Linked DNA regions of Homo sapiens: region 1 is linked to region 2. The links are contacts of gene promoters, found by promoter capture Hi-C in blood cells and fetal thymus (Javierre and others, 2016). All regions are on one chromosome and are shown on one strand. The core of a region is centred on a gene start or on the middle of the fragment in contact, and the rest is flanking DNA. Distances in the headings are between cores, read along the strand shown. Region 1 overlaps TNKS (tankyrase). Region 2 holds the start of TNKS (tankyrase).

Region 1 (6,108 bases), core at 65-2,564, 110 kb before region 2:
CTCCACATCAGTCTGCAATTCCTCAGGATGATATGGTTATAAGATGCAGAGGTCAGGCAATCCCTGAATAGGCGACTCCCAAAACTTCAGCCCTCAGTAGGCTTACGCATCCAGGGGCCAAGCATCCCGATAAGAGCAAGGGCTGTAGGAAAGTAATTTTCTTTTCACAGACAATGGCCTGGTTCCTATAAATCACAATACGCTTTGTTCATATATCCTGAGAGTTCTGAGATTGCAGCTACTACATATACAGCAGTTTCTTAAATGAAGAGATCATATTGGCATACTGGTTTAAACAAAAATGAGTTCTTTCTGAAATAATTATTTCAATATAAATACTTCACATAAAAATAATACAAATATTAAGAAGAATCTCTGAAGAAAGTGTTTTTGAGTATTCTGTCGTTTCTATTTGTTGAATGACTTATGTTCCTCCCATAAATTTATCAACTACCCTCATATAAAAATTATCACTTTGTCTTATTAGAATACTGCTACCATAAAAATCGGAACACTCAAGAACTAAATCATTCCAGATAGCCAAGTTTTTAACATAACTGCTAATTTAGCATTTTAATTTCTCTTTTCTTGATAGAATTTCTTTATGAAATATATTACATACCTCTATACACTGAAAAACAGATCACTCCAAACATAATTTTACTCTTCTTGACAATTCAGGGCCAATTATTATGAACCTCCACCAGCCTTTGGAATAATATAGCAATGCTCTCTGGACTACTGAGATGTGCAGGGACATTTGTACTTACTCAAAACGGTTCAAGATTGCTATGTATTTTACTTTTTTTTTTTTTTTTAGATAGAGTCTCACTCTGTCGCCCAGGCTGGAGCGCAATGCAACCATCTTGGCTCACTGCAAACTCTGCCTCCTGGGTTTCAAGCAATTCTTGTGCCTCATCCTCTCGAGTAGCTGGGACTACAGGCGTGAGCCACCACAGCCAGCTAATTTTTGTATTTTTAGTAGAGACGGGGTTTCACCATGTTGGCCAGGCTGGTCTCGAACTCCTGGCCTCAAGTGATCTGCCAGCCTTGGCCTCCCAAAGTGCGGGGATTACAGGCGTGAGCTACCACACCCAGCCATATTTTACTTTTTAATACGTAATTTATTTCTCTCTTTTCCTTTGCATAAATTAATCTCTTTATATATTTCCTTTTAGTTTAGAATGTTTGAAAAGTGCTGTCCAGTAGAAATATAAGCTTCCTATGTAATTGTAAACTTCCAGTAGCAATGTTTAAAAAAGACATGAGTTTTAATAGCACGTTTTATTTACCCTACTATATCCACAATATTACCATTTCAACGTGTGGCAGCGTGTTCAGCAGCCAGCTGTGACGAGTGGCTTTGTGCTGGACAGTGCACATCTAAAACCATCATGAGCTGGAAGCTTACAACAGTAAAACGGTTGTAATCAGTCAGCAGCAAAAGCTGTTACTACAGTAGGAGCAAATTTGCGCTGAGTAAGATGAGGATTCTCCTAGGTACAAGGAACTTCAGTTTCAGAGCATGACTTTGCACATTTATTTGGAGGACAGAGAGAAAAAAAGAGGAGGGGAGGAAGAAGAGAGAAGAGTAGTAAAAAGAGAGGTAGGAATGAGGTTAGGGAGGGGAAAAGGATCCAATAAAAATATTCTTGAGGTGCGTAGACTCTGAGGAGGCTTAGAGACTCATAAGGCAACATGAGGCCTTTCTTAGTAGTTACTCTAGGGCTTGTAAAGGTGCATGCAATAATAATGGGAATTCACGAGAGTGAATTCATGAGAGTTGAAGAATCCTTGCACCATGCTCCAGTATCCAGAGAAAGAGACCAGTAGAGGTTAACAGTGACTCCTGAAAAGGCAGCACAAGGTTATTATGAGGCTACCTCATTCACATGTATATGCCAAGAGATGACTGAGAGTATGCTTAAGACAACAGGTCAAACACACTACTAATCCCTTTTATGGAATCTTGTAGAGATGCACAACTTTACCATAAGAAATACAGACCATTTCTAGTGACTCTGAAGTCCTGGACAAGGGACCAAAGGCATTGGTGAATTCAGCATTTCTTCCTGCTAACTTAAAAGAAGTGGAAATACGAATAAAAAACAGAAAAAGTAAATCTGGTTTTCAGAATGATGACTCCCTGGCAACTGCTGAAGAGCATCACATGATTGACAAGAACATTTAATCAGGATAAAGGCAATGTCCTGCTATTAGAGCCCTTCTCCCCTCAAAAACAGTCAACTGTTCAAATATGTAAGTGAAGAAAGACTAAAAACTGACTCCAGACTAGCCCCAGTAAAAATATTTTGAAGCTAGTTTGACAGGAAGCTCAAGGAAACCAATGTAACAAATTTCAAAACAGCAAATGGAAACTTACGTCAACAGAATTTTAAAAAGGAGGGGAGGAAAACTTAGTCTAGAGTACAAAAGCTTGAAGTGATAGTAGGTGGTGAGTATAGGAAAGGTCTTGATTAGCATTGTCAGTATTTCAGAGAGGGCTCTCAAAAGGAAAAACATCCTTATACGATGTAGTTCCAAAAAGAAGTTACTATATTTGGCTTAATGCATAGAAGTATTTCTAACCATTTAAGTTACCCAACAATGGACTAATGGCAGACAGCACATAGGGATATGGTATAGAAATGCCGTGTAGTAATATAGTACGGAATCCTTATGGGGTAAAAGGTTAGATTAGCTAACCTCTAAATTTAAGGTCTCTTCTAGAGTCATGAACGTGTGACTTTTATTAACAGTTGTATACTTGTTAATTATATAAAATTGAACTTAAATTACACATGCATGCGTTTTTTATTTTCTGATCTTCATTAGAACCATCTTCAGTTCTCTAAATGCAGTTCATAATTTTATGTACATTACCTGTATATGTACTGTGAGTGATTTATAATAAGAAATATGTATTTGGTCTTCCTTTCCTGGCACATAGCCCCTAAATCTCTTGGAATTTCAGATGAGTGTCTCAGATAAGTGATAAGTACATTTTTATATGTTAACGTGCTACAGTTTGAATGTTTGTGCCTTCCAAATGTATGTTGAAATTGGATGCCCAATGTTGGAGGTGGGACCTAGTAAGAGGTGTCTGAGTCATGGAGGTGGATCCCTCATGAATAATTTAATTTGCGTTGGAAGGTGCACGGGGAGGAAGTGTGAGTGAGTTCTCACTCTATTAGTTCCTTCAATAGTTGGTTGTGAAAAACAGCCTGGCACCTCCCTCTCCATCACTTTGCTTCCTCCCTTGCCATGTCGTCTTTGCACATGCTGACTCCCCCTCACCTTCTGCCAGGAGTGGAAGCAATCTGAAGCCCTCACCAGACATAGATGCTGGCACCATGCTTCTTGTACAGCCTGCAAAACTGTGAGCCAAATAAACCTCTTTTCTTTATAAATTACCCAGCCTCGAGGTATTCCTTACAGCAACACATTAAATGGACTAAGATATAATGAGACGACTGATGGCTGGGGGCTCCTGGATAGTCTCCAGATAGGGGCTGGTACCAGAGGAAACAATCATGTGACTGGATGGGTGGAACTTTCAGCCCCATGCCTGATCTCCAGGGAGGGAATGATATAATCAATTGGCCACAGTGAAGCCTCCAGAGAAACCCCAAGGGACAGGGTTGAAAGTGTTTCTGGGTTACTGAACGTGTGGAGGTGCTAGGAAGGTGGAGCACTGGGAGGGAGTATGGAAGCTCCTTGCCCCTGCCCACTGACCTTGCCCTATGTACCTCCTCATCTGGCCATTCATCTGCAGCCTTTGTAATTCCTTTATAATAAACTGGTAAACATATCTTCCTGAGTTCTGTGGGCACCACTAGCAAATAATTAAACTTGATGAAGAGGTCATGGGAACCCCCAATTGACAGCCAGCAGATAAGAAGTATAGATGACAACCTACTACTAGCGAGTAGCCTCTAAAGTGGGGTGTAGTCTTCTGGGACTGAGCCTTTAACTCACTGGATCTGACGTTAATTCCAAGCAGACAGTGTTAGAACAGAATCAAATTATAGGACACCTAACTGCTGTTGGAAGAGTGCTCATGGTAGGAAAAACTTGCAAATTTTGGTGACCAGAAGTGAAATAAGCAGTAAAACAAAAAAGAGGTTTCTTTTCCTTTACACATACATATACACACACGTGTTTGTATTTGACAAGCACTTTCCTTGAATAAACTCACTTAATCCTCAAATAATGCTCTGAGGTAACTGGGCAACAAAAGGTCAAACACTTCAGATATTAGTTTCCTATTGTTATTGTAACACAATACCAGAAACTAAGTGAATTAAAACACACATTTATTCCCACACAGTTCTGGAGGTCATAAGTCTAAAATGGATGAGCAGGGATGTGTTCCTTCGGAGCCTCTAGGGGAAAACACATTTCCTTGTCTTTTTCAGCTTCCAAAGCCTGCTCACATTCCTTGGCTTGTGGCCATGCATCACTATGACCTCTAATTCTGTCATCAGATCGTCTCTGATTCTGAGCCTCCTTTAAAGAATCCTTGTGATTATACTGGGCCTATCCAGATAACCCAAGATAATCTCTCCATCTCAAGATTAACTTAATCACATCCGCAGTCTTTTTATCCCATAAGGTAACATAGTTACAGGTTCTGGGGATTAGTATGTTGACATCTATGGGGGCTAGTATTCTGCCTACCACAACTAGTAAATGGCAGATTGAGGATTTTTAACAACAGTGAATGATGCCTCTCAAATACTGCTCTTTCATTGAATGAAAAGTACATACTTTTTTTAAAAATTTTATTATTATTATACTTTAGGTTTTAGGGTACATGTGCACAACGTGCAGGTTTGTTACATATGTATACATATGCCATGTTGGCATGCTGCACCCATTAACTCATCATTTAGCATTAGGTGTATCTCCTAATGCTATCCCTTCCCCCTATCCCCACCACACAACTGTCCCCGGTGTGTGATGTTCCCCTTCCTGTGTCCATGTGTTCTCATTGTTCAATACCCACCTATGAGTCAGAACATACGGTGTTTGGTTTTTTGTCCTTGCGATAGTTTGCTGAGAATGATGGTTTCCAGCTTCATCCATGTCCCTACAAAGGACATGAACTCATCCTTTTTTATGGCTGCATAGTATTCCATGGTGTATATGTGCCACATTTTCTTAATCCAGTCTATCGTTGATGGACATTTGGGTTGGTTCCAAGTCTTTGCTATTGTGAATAGTGCCGCAATAAACATACATGTGCATGTGTCTTTATAGCAGCATGATTTATAATCCTTTGGGTATATACCCAGTAATGGGATGGCTGCGTCAAATGGTATTTCTAGTTCTAGATCCCTGAGGAATCGCCACACTGACTTCCACAATGGTTGAACTAGTTTACAGTCCCACCAACAGTGTAAAAGTGTTCCTTCCTATTTCTCCACATCCTCTCCAGCACCTGTTGTTTCCTGACTTCTTAATGATCGCCATTCTAACAGGTGTGTGAGATGGTATCTCATTGTGGTTTTGATTTGCATTTCTCTGATGGCCAGTGATGATGAGCAGCATTTTTTCATGTGTTTTTTGGCTGCATAAATGTCTTCTTTTGAGAAGTGTCTGTTCATACCCTTTGCCCACTTTGTGATGGGGTTGTTTGTTTTTTTCTTGTACATTTGTTTGAGTTCTTTGTAAATTCTGGATATTAGCCCTTTGTCAGATGAGTAGGTTGCAAAAAATTTTCTCCCATTCTGTAGGTAGCCCGTTCACTCTGATGGTAGTTTCTTTTGCTGTGCAGAAGCTCTTGAGTTTAATTAGATCCCATTTGTCAATTTTGACTTTTGTTGCCATTGCTTTTGGTGTTTTAGACATGAAGTCCTTGCCCATGCCTATGTCCCGAATGGTATTGCCTAGGTTTTCTTCTAGGGTTTTTATGGTTTTAGGTCTAACATTTAAGTCTTTAATCCATCTTGAATTAATTTTTGTCTAAGGTGTAAGGAAGGGATCCAGTTTCAGCTTTCTCCATACGGCTAGCCAGTTTTCCCAGCACCATTTATTAAATAGGGAATCCTTTCCCCATTGCTTGTTTTTGTCAGGCTTGTCAAAAATCAGATAGTTGTAGATATG
Region 2 (6,908 bases), core at 1,438-3,937:
ACTTATCCTAAATACATTAATACACATAAATATAACTATCATTTATTGGTGATTACGCATAAAGTGGGATGGTGAGAAATGACATGATTTGTGACGCAATTTGTTAAAATAGGCAAACTTGGAATAAAGTATGCAAAAGTAGACACCTCTGTTGATTAATAAAATCAGACTTAGGCCTTTCATTTAGCCTAAGGAAAAAGAAATGCTATTTCATCTAAAACAAGCAAGACCCTTGAGCAAACAAATAGGCAAAAGTCTGTTTCTGATTCAATTCACTGCATTCCTAATAAGTAGTGTCTGTATATCAATAATGAATCCAGTGACCTAACAATGATTTCCTTTAAGTGTTTCTCATACCACTGGTCACGACCCATTAATGGATCACAAGCAGCATTTGCTAAAAATGAAACAGAATAAAATATAAAATATCAGAGGACAACACATGTATTAAGGGAAAGTATTGTTTCCAGAAACTTTTGATTCAGTTGCGTATGTGACAATGTAAAATGTATTTCTAAGTATGGGCTACAATAAAAAACATGTGAAAGCTACTCTCTTGCATATAAGCCCCTCCGCATTACTACTTCTCCCAAAAATTGGGAACTCTACACTTCAATTACTCACAAAAATGAAAAGTGACCTTAATCCAGGGTTCTGACAGTTTAAGTTTGATTTCACAAGCTCTAAAATCAAACTGCCTGAATTCAAACTCAATTTCCACTATTTCCTGACTGAATTTGGACTTATTTAAGCGATCGATATATGCTTCACTTTTGTCATCTGTAAAATGGTTAATCATATCTCCCAAGTGTGGTAAAAATAAATACTACAGTGGGTCAACACATGTTTTACTGTTAACAGAACAAACTGAAGAAGTGATATATATATATATTAGAAATATAGGAGAAACTTAACAGAAGTTATCTCTGGTGTGTTATCTCTGATGTTTCTGTGTGATGCCTTTCATTTTGTATTTTTCTGTCCTATTTGAATTGTATAACGTACAATATATGTATTTCCAATATAATGTTTCTAATGTATAAAACATTATTACCTACATTTTTAAAATATCAACAATAGGTATCCAGGCAGTGAGATTATGGTCCTTTGTTTTTATTTTACAGTTCTCTTTATTTTATAAACATATTATTAGGTGTCTTTGAGAGAAAATCATCAACTACTTGCAAAAAAAAAAAAAAAGACAAGTGTGGGGTCCAGAGCTTAAGAAATTCACACTTTTTGAGGGAGAACTTTGTGCCAGATACTTCTCACCAAATGCTCGCACAACATCATTTTATGATTTTTGCCCATGAGAAAACTGAGGCAACTGACACGAGGTAAATGGTCTGCTAGACAACAAATAATAGTGGCCACAACATCAAAGCCTATATTTCTTCCATCATCATATAATGCATCCAAATATTCTTCTCCAGTTGTTTCACATTGGCATATTTTGGTCTCCCCGTCTAGACTGCAAACTTCTTTAGAAGAAGGGAAACTTTCAAACACTTCATTTATGTCTTTCATTGGGTTATTAAGGCTACAATAGATCCTCAAACATGTGTTGGGTTGTATTAAACCTCTTTTGGTCTGGACTGTCCTCAAAGGACATACCCTTGTAAAAACAAAATAAACTAGCACACAAACGACAAAACTACTCTAAAGCTGTCCAAATCTAACTGTATTCCTGCACACCAAAAACTAAAGTGTAAATATATCCATATGCAGAGACTACCAACTACAGTGAGTTTTGTAATGAGTACTGTGCAACCACTGAAGAATTCCTTGGATTCACTTATCCCCCCCAACCACGCCCCCATCACCCAGGCACCACCAAAAGAAAGGAACCTCCAGTCTTCTGGTGAGGTGATGAAGAACCATAACCACGCCCCCACTTTGTCCCATCACAATAACCTGTTTTCTTGTCCTAACCGGACCCTGCACCCAAACCCATAACCCTTAATAAACAATTCAAAAGTCTCTGACCTGCAGCGAAGTGCAGGGGAGAAGACTTCCGGCCGGCCATGTCCTTTGCATTTACGTTTGCCGCGTCCACCAGCCTCTTTACCCGGGACACGTCCCCATTGCGACAGGCCTCCAGCAGTTCCCGTAGGGCCCCGCTCACTGCTGGGACCCCTGTCCCAGGTCCTGCTGCCCCAGGCCCCAGTGGTGCTGTGCTGCTAACTCCGGCCGCCTCGGGGCTCTCCGCCAAGCTCGATCCAGGGGAGGATGGAGAGGAAGATGAGGAAGAAGTCGGGGAAGAAGAGGACGACGGTGAATTGTTACTGCCACTGCCGGCTGGGTTGGGAGCGACCCCAGCGGCAGATGAAGTAGAAACCGCTGGGACCACGGGAGCGGCGGCGACGGTACAGATTGTGCTGGTGGTACTGCAACAGCTGGTACCGTCAACCGGGTCCGGGGATCGGGGCCTGTCGGGCGGATCCCGACTGCCATCCCCCTCCGGCAGCGCTAGGCCGTGCCGCGGGGAGGCGAAGGGGGCCAGGCCGCTGGCCGTGGGAGAGGCTGGGGTGGTCCCCGGGGCCAGGCCAGGGCTGAGTGGGGGAGGAGGTGGCGGCGGCGGCGCTGAAGCCCCTGGGGCGGGCTGGAGCTGTTGTTGATGATGGTGGTGATGATGCTGAGAGCGACGCGACGCCGCCATCTTCGGACTCCCCTAGCACTGTCACTGCGGCAACGGCCCCCACCGCCCGCCCTCACTTCCGACTGTCGGACCAATCAGCATCCAGCGCACAGGAAATGATGCTAGGCGGGGTAGCAGGGGCCAAAGAGAAGGAGGGAAGTATTGGGAGCTCAGAGAACAGCCAAGGGAACGGGGCGGGGCTTTGTCACTGAGAGGCGGGCTTTGTGACGTGGTGGCGGGCCGGCTGGAGAGATTTGAATGCTGGAACCAGCTTCTGCCTAGATGGGAAACATTTCCTGCATTTCTCACTTTCAGTCGGCTTTCTTTGCCCTGCTCCGCTCTGTTTCCCTTAGTCTCCCTTTGCTTGCTCCAGAGCCAGCTGTTGAGATGCAGATCAGAGCAAGCAGGGAATGTGTCCGTTATCATCTATTAAGCGTCCTTGTCTGAAAAATGGAACTTATAGTACCAACCTCACAGAATTATTAGCGGGATTAAAAGAGCTAACAGACAAAGCGCTCTGCCAGTAAAACACAAGTATAATTAGCCCGTTGGTAATTTTTTAAATTATAGTATTTCTTTTCCAGGTGTCCCCTTGAGCTCTTGTCCCTTCCCTATAATTTTTCTCACCCTATGTGCTTTAATTCCTCGTTTTTAAATGCTGGTTCAGATTGCTAGGATTGGCGTTCCAGCTCTGCCATTTGTTGTTTATATATGTACTTGCTATTTCATCACTCTATGCCTGTTTTTCTCTGTAAAATTGAAATAACAATAGTGCAATAAGTGTGAATTATTAAAATTATGATTTTTTTTTCCTATTCTGCTCTCTCTGAAATTTTATTTTTCACCCTAAGTGTAACTAATTATGAATATATTCCTTTCTTTTGAATTCTGGCTTAGCTTAGCCTCTCCCACACCCGAAACAGATAAAAACCTGATTGCTAGGCTGGTCACGGTGGCTCATGCCTGTAATCCTAGCACTTTGGGAGGCCGAGGCCGGCGGGCCACTTGAGCCCGGGAGTTCAAGATCAGCCTGGCCATCACGGCGAAGCTCCATCTCTACAAAAAATACACAGATTAGCTGGGCAAAGTGGCACATGCGTGTAGTCCCAGCTACTCAGGAGTCTGTTGGGAGGATCACTTGAGCCCGGGAGGCAGAGGTTGCTGTGAGCCGAGGTCACACCACTGCACTCCAGCCTGGGTGACAGAGGGCGGAGACCCTGTCACAAAAACAACAAGAAAACATAACAAAAACCTGATTGCTGTCCATTACTCACCATCAGGTGCTATTTTTCAGCAACTGCTTTTTCTGTCTTTCCCCCAACCTATGTATACTTTTGTTTTTCTACTATCAAAAGATGTATCCATGAATGAGATAATCCCATTGAGGACTCCATTTCATACCTACTGTTCAATAGTAAAGCAGGCATTGTAGAAGTATACAGAAACAGCATTATTCCAATAGAGTGGACACAGATGGAAATTCTGTAAGAGAAACAAGATTTAGATGAGTCAAGCAGAATATTAAACTAGGTGATAAATTGTTTCATGTGTTCATTGTTAAATATGATTTATGTGATGTTAATATTCCCATTTAAGTAAATAGATGAGTTTATTTGGGGTTAGTAAGTAAATACAATAAGGTCAGGAACATAATTAGTATTACGAGTGGCATTTATTTTCATCTAATCTGGGGTTACAGATTATAATTCTTAACATTATCCAGCTGTGTGATGAAATGTGCCATTGTTCGCAGTAGACACCGGACAAAAAGTGTAGCTGGATAGGAAAACTCACATCAGTGCAACTAAAATCAGTCCACAACATTCTTCTTCATGCTTCTGTTTTTTAATCTTAACTTCTTGATGTACAGCAGAGAACCATTGAGAAGTGGGAGTGATCCAACATGATATGTTAGATATCCATAACACACCATGTGTCCCCTAAATAATGGCCTCCTGGAATGGGAGGCATAAGAAATATCTCATCTGGTCTCCCAGTGGTCAGTTACTCATAGAAAGTAGTGATGTTCAGACTTATTCAAAATGCATCTGTTGTGTCTATCAGTACAAAAAATAATAATAACAATAAAATAAGGAAGTCTCTGCTGGACAGAGATTTTTAAAAACTAAATTGCCGGCCAGGCCCAGTAGCTCACACCTGTAATCCCAGCACTTTGGGAGGCCAAGGTGGGCAGATCACGAGGTCAGGAGTTCCAGACCAGCCTGGCCAACATGAGGAAACCCCATCTCTACTAAAAATACAAAAATTAGTTGGGCGTGGTGGTGCGCGCCTGTAATCCCAGCTACTGCGGAGGCTGAGGCAGGAGGATGGCTTGAACCCAGGAGGCAGAGGTTGCAGTGAGCCGAAATCGTGCCACTGCACTCCAGCCTGGGTGGCAGAGCAACATTGTCTCAGCAAAACAAACAAACAAACAAAAAACAAAAAACTAAATTGCCTGAAACTGGACTGGAAAACCATGTCTGGAAATGCATTCAATCAACTGGAAATTGCTTTCTTCCCCTCGAGCAGAAAGTAGGAAAAGTACTTAACATTAAGTATTTATGAAGTTTGGGTTTATACCGACTAATGTTGAGCTCCAAACATGAAAGGACACATGCTATTACCTAATCTTCTGTGGCTAAACACAATTCCAGGAGGAATGCACTATATCATAGTGGAAAGAGCAAAGCTTGGGGTCAAACAAACCTGGGCTTGAAAGTCACATCTCTGATGATTACTAGTTGGCTAATCTTGATAGGTATGCTTCAGCTCTCTCAGCCTAAAATGTTGACCTTAGTTTAGCACTGTCATGAGGATTAAAAGCCTAGGTGTTTTTTAAGCACTCTTTGAATGTTAGATCCGTTCTCTTACATGGCATGCATAAAGTGTTAACATGAACTCACAGCCACTATTGATAGCTTTCCCCTCGCAACTTCCTTTGTGACAAAGATAGGGGCTGGGAATAAATATCCATCGTTTTACACAGAATGGGAATCTAAAGCAAAGAAACATTAGGTTTAATTCTTTCCTTATCTGATAATTCAGGATTCTTTATAAACTCTGTCTCTAAACTATTGTTGATCACAGGTGTGTAGTATCTTATTTTCATAAGCGTTTTCACAAAAACAATATCCTGGCCGAGTACAGTGGCTCACACTTATAATCCCAGCATTTTGGGAAGCTGAGGCAGGAGAATGCTTGATCCCAAAAAATCAAGATCAAAGATCAGCCTGGGCAACAAAGTGAGACCCTGTCTACACACACACACACACACACACACACACACAAAGTATACCCAAGTACTACAAAAATGGGAGCACATAGCACTCTCTTAGGCTATACTGTTGACACAAAAGAAAAGCCACCAACTCAAAGGACACCGATCTTTTGGGCTGTGTTCTGATGTTTGCTTTCTTACCCTATGGGGTTCGCATGGACACTCTGAAAATTACACAATCATGAACTTGCACAAGTTCCATATTTCAACTGGAATTGGTGTGTCATTCCATCCATATACTTCCCATTGATCTCCCACCGTATTTGGTATTCTGGTAGTATTTCTACTAAGTCTAGTTATTCTTCGATCCCCTCTGCAATGCCTCCTCCGCAAATCCACGAGCACAAGCCAGAGCTGTGGTTTGGCTGAGGCATGTCATTTCCTCATTTTTGGTCTTACCGAAACATAATAAGTTATTTTTATGTCAGAAATGTCTATGGTGCCAAGGGCCCAGATTTCTCTATAAAAGTGTTGCGTTCTCTTAGTTGAAGTTCCATCCAGAAACCCAGGTGAATATTTTTTTACAAAACCACAGATGGGCAATGATGCCAACAGCTGCAATCGTACTAACAACATTGTATCAGAAAAAGCTTTACCAAAAAAAAAACAGGTAAAACAACTTATTACAAGACAGCAAAATTACAGTAATTTAAAGATATCCTCTGTATCAGTTTCTTAGCAACTCTCCCATTAAAGTTTTAGTAGCTTTATAAGATAGCTCTTACATACCAGGGTCTTCTGGCTGCTGCTCCAAAGACATCTGTAGCCTGCACTGAGATAACTTGGATTTTTTCTGGCTATGGTCTGTACGCTCATGGGTAGTCGGTTTAATTTGAAGTGTTAGTTCCAGGCAGAGAGTTAGTTCCGGGCAGAGAGGTGGTTAAAGGTGTGGATTCCACATACAGACTGCTTGGATATGAATCCTAGCTTTGTCACTAACTAGCTTCGTATGATTAAAGGATATTACATCATACATTTTAACAGGAATAAATA

Evidence for each region. The method cuts DNA at HindIII sites, captures the fragments that hold promoters and counts their contacts. A CHiCAGO score of 5 or more calls a contact.
Region 1: a fragment that was not itself captured here is called in contact with the fragment with the promoter of TNKS in region 2 in 1 of 17 cell types (megakaryocytes); the score reaches 5.5 in megakaryocytes.

What each region holds. Positions count from the first base shown.
Region 1 is chr8:9,661,430-9,667,537 of GRCh38, reverse strand. All of the region lies in intron 3 of TNKS (tankyrase), which reads right to left. Among named protein-coding and RNA genes, the nearest start is that of MIR597, 77 kb to the left of the region's middle. The HindIII fragment of the contact is 188 bases long and covers 1,221-1,408 here.
Region 2 is chr8:9,551,691-9,558,598 of GRCh38, reverse strand. It overlaps TNKS (tankyrase), which reads right to left and starts at 2,687. Exons shown (of 27, transcript NM_003747.3): 1 at 1,987-2,687. The coding sequence starts at 2,659. RefSeq lists enhancers at 1,683-2,342, 2,343-3,004, 6,060-6,219 and a silencer at 2,425-2,584. The HindIII fragment of the contact is 11,121 bases long and covers 1-5,329 here.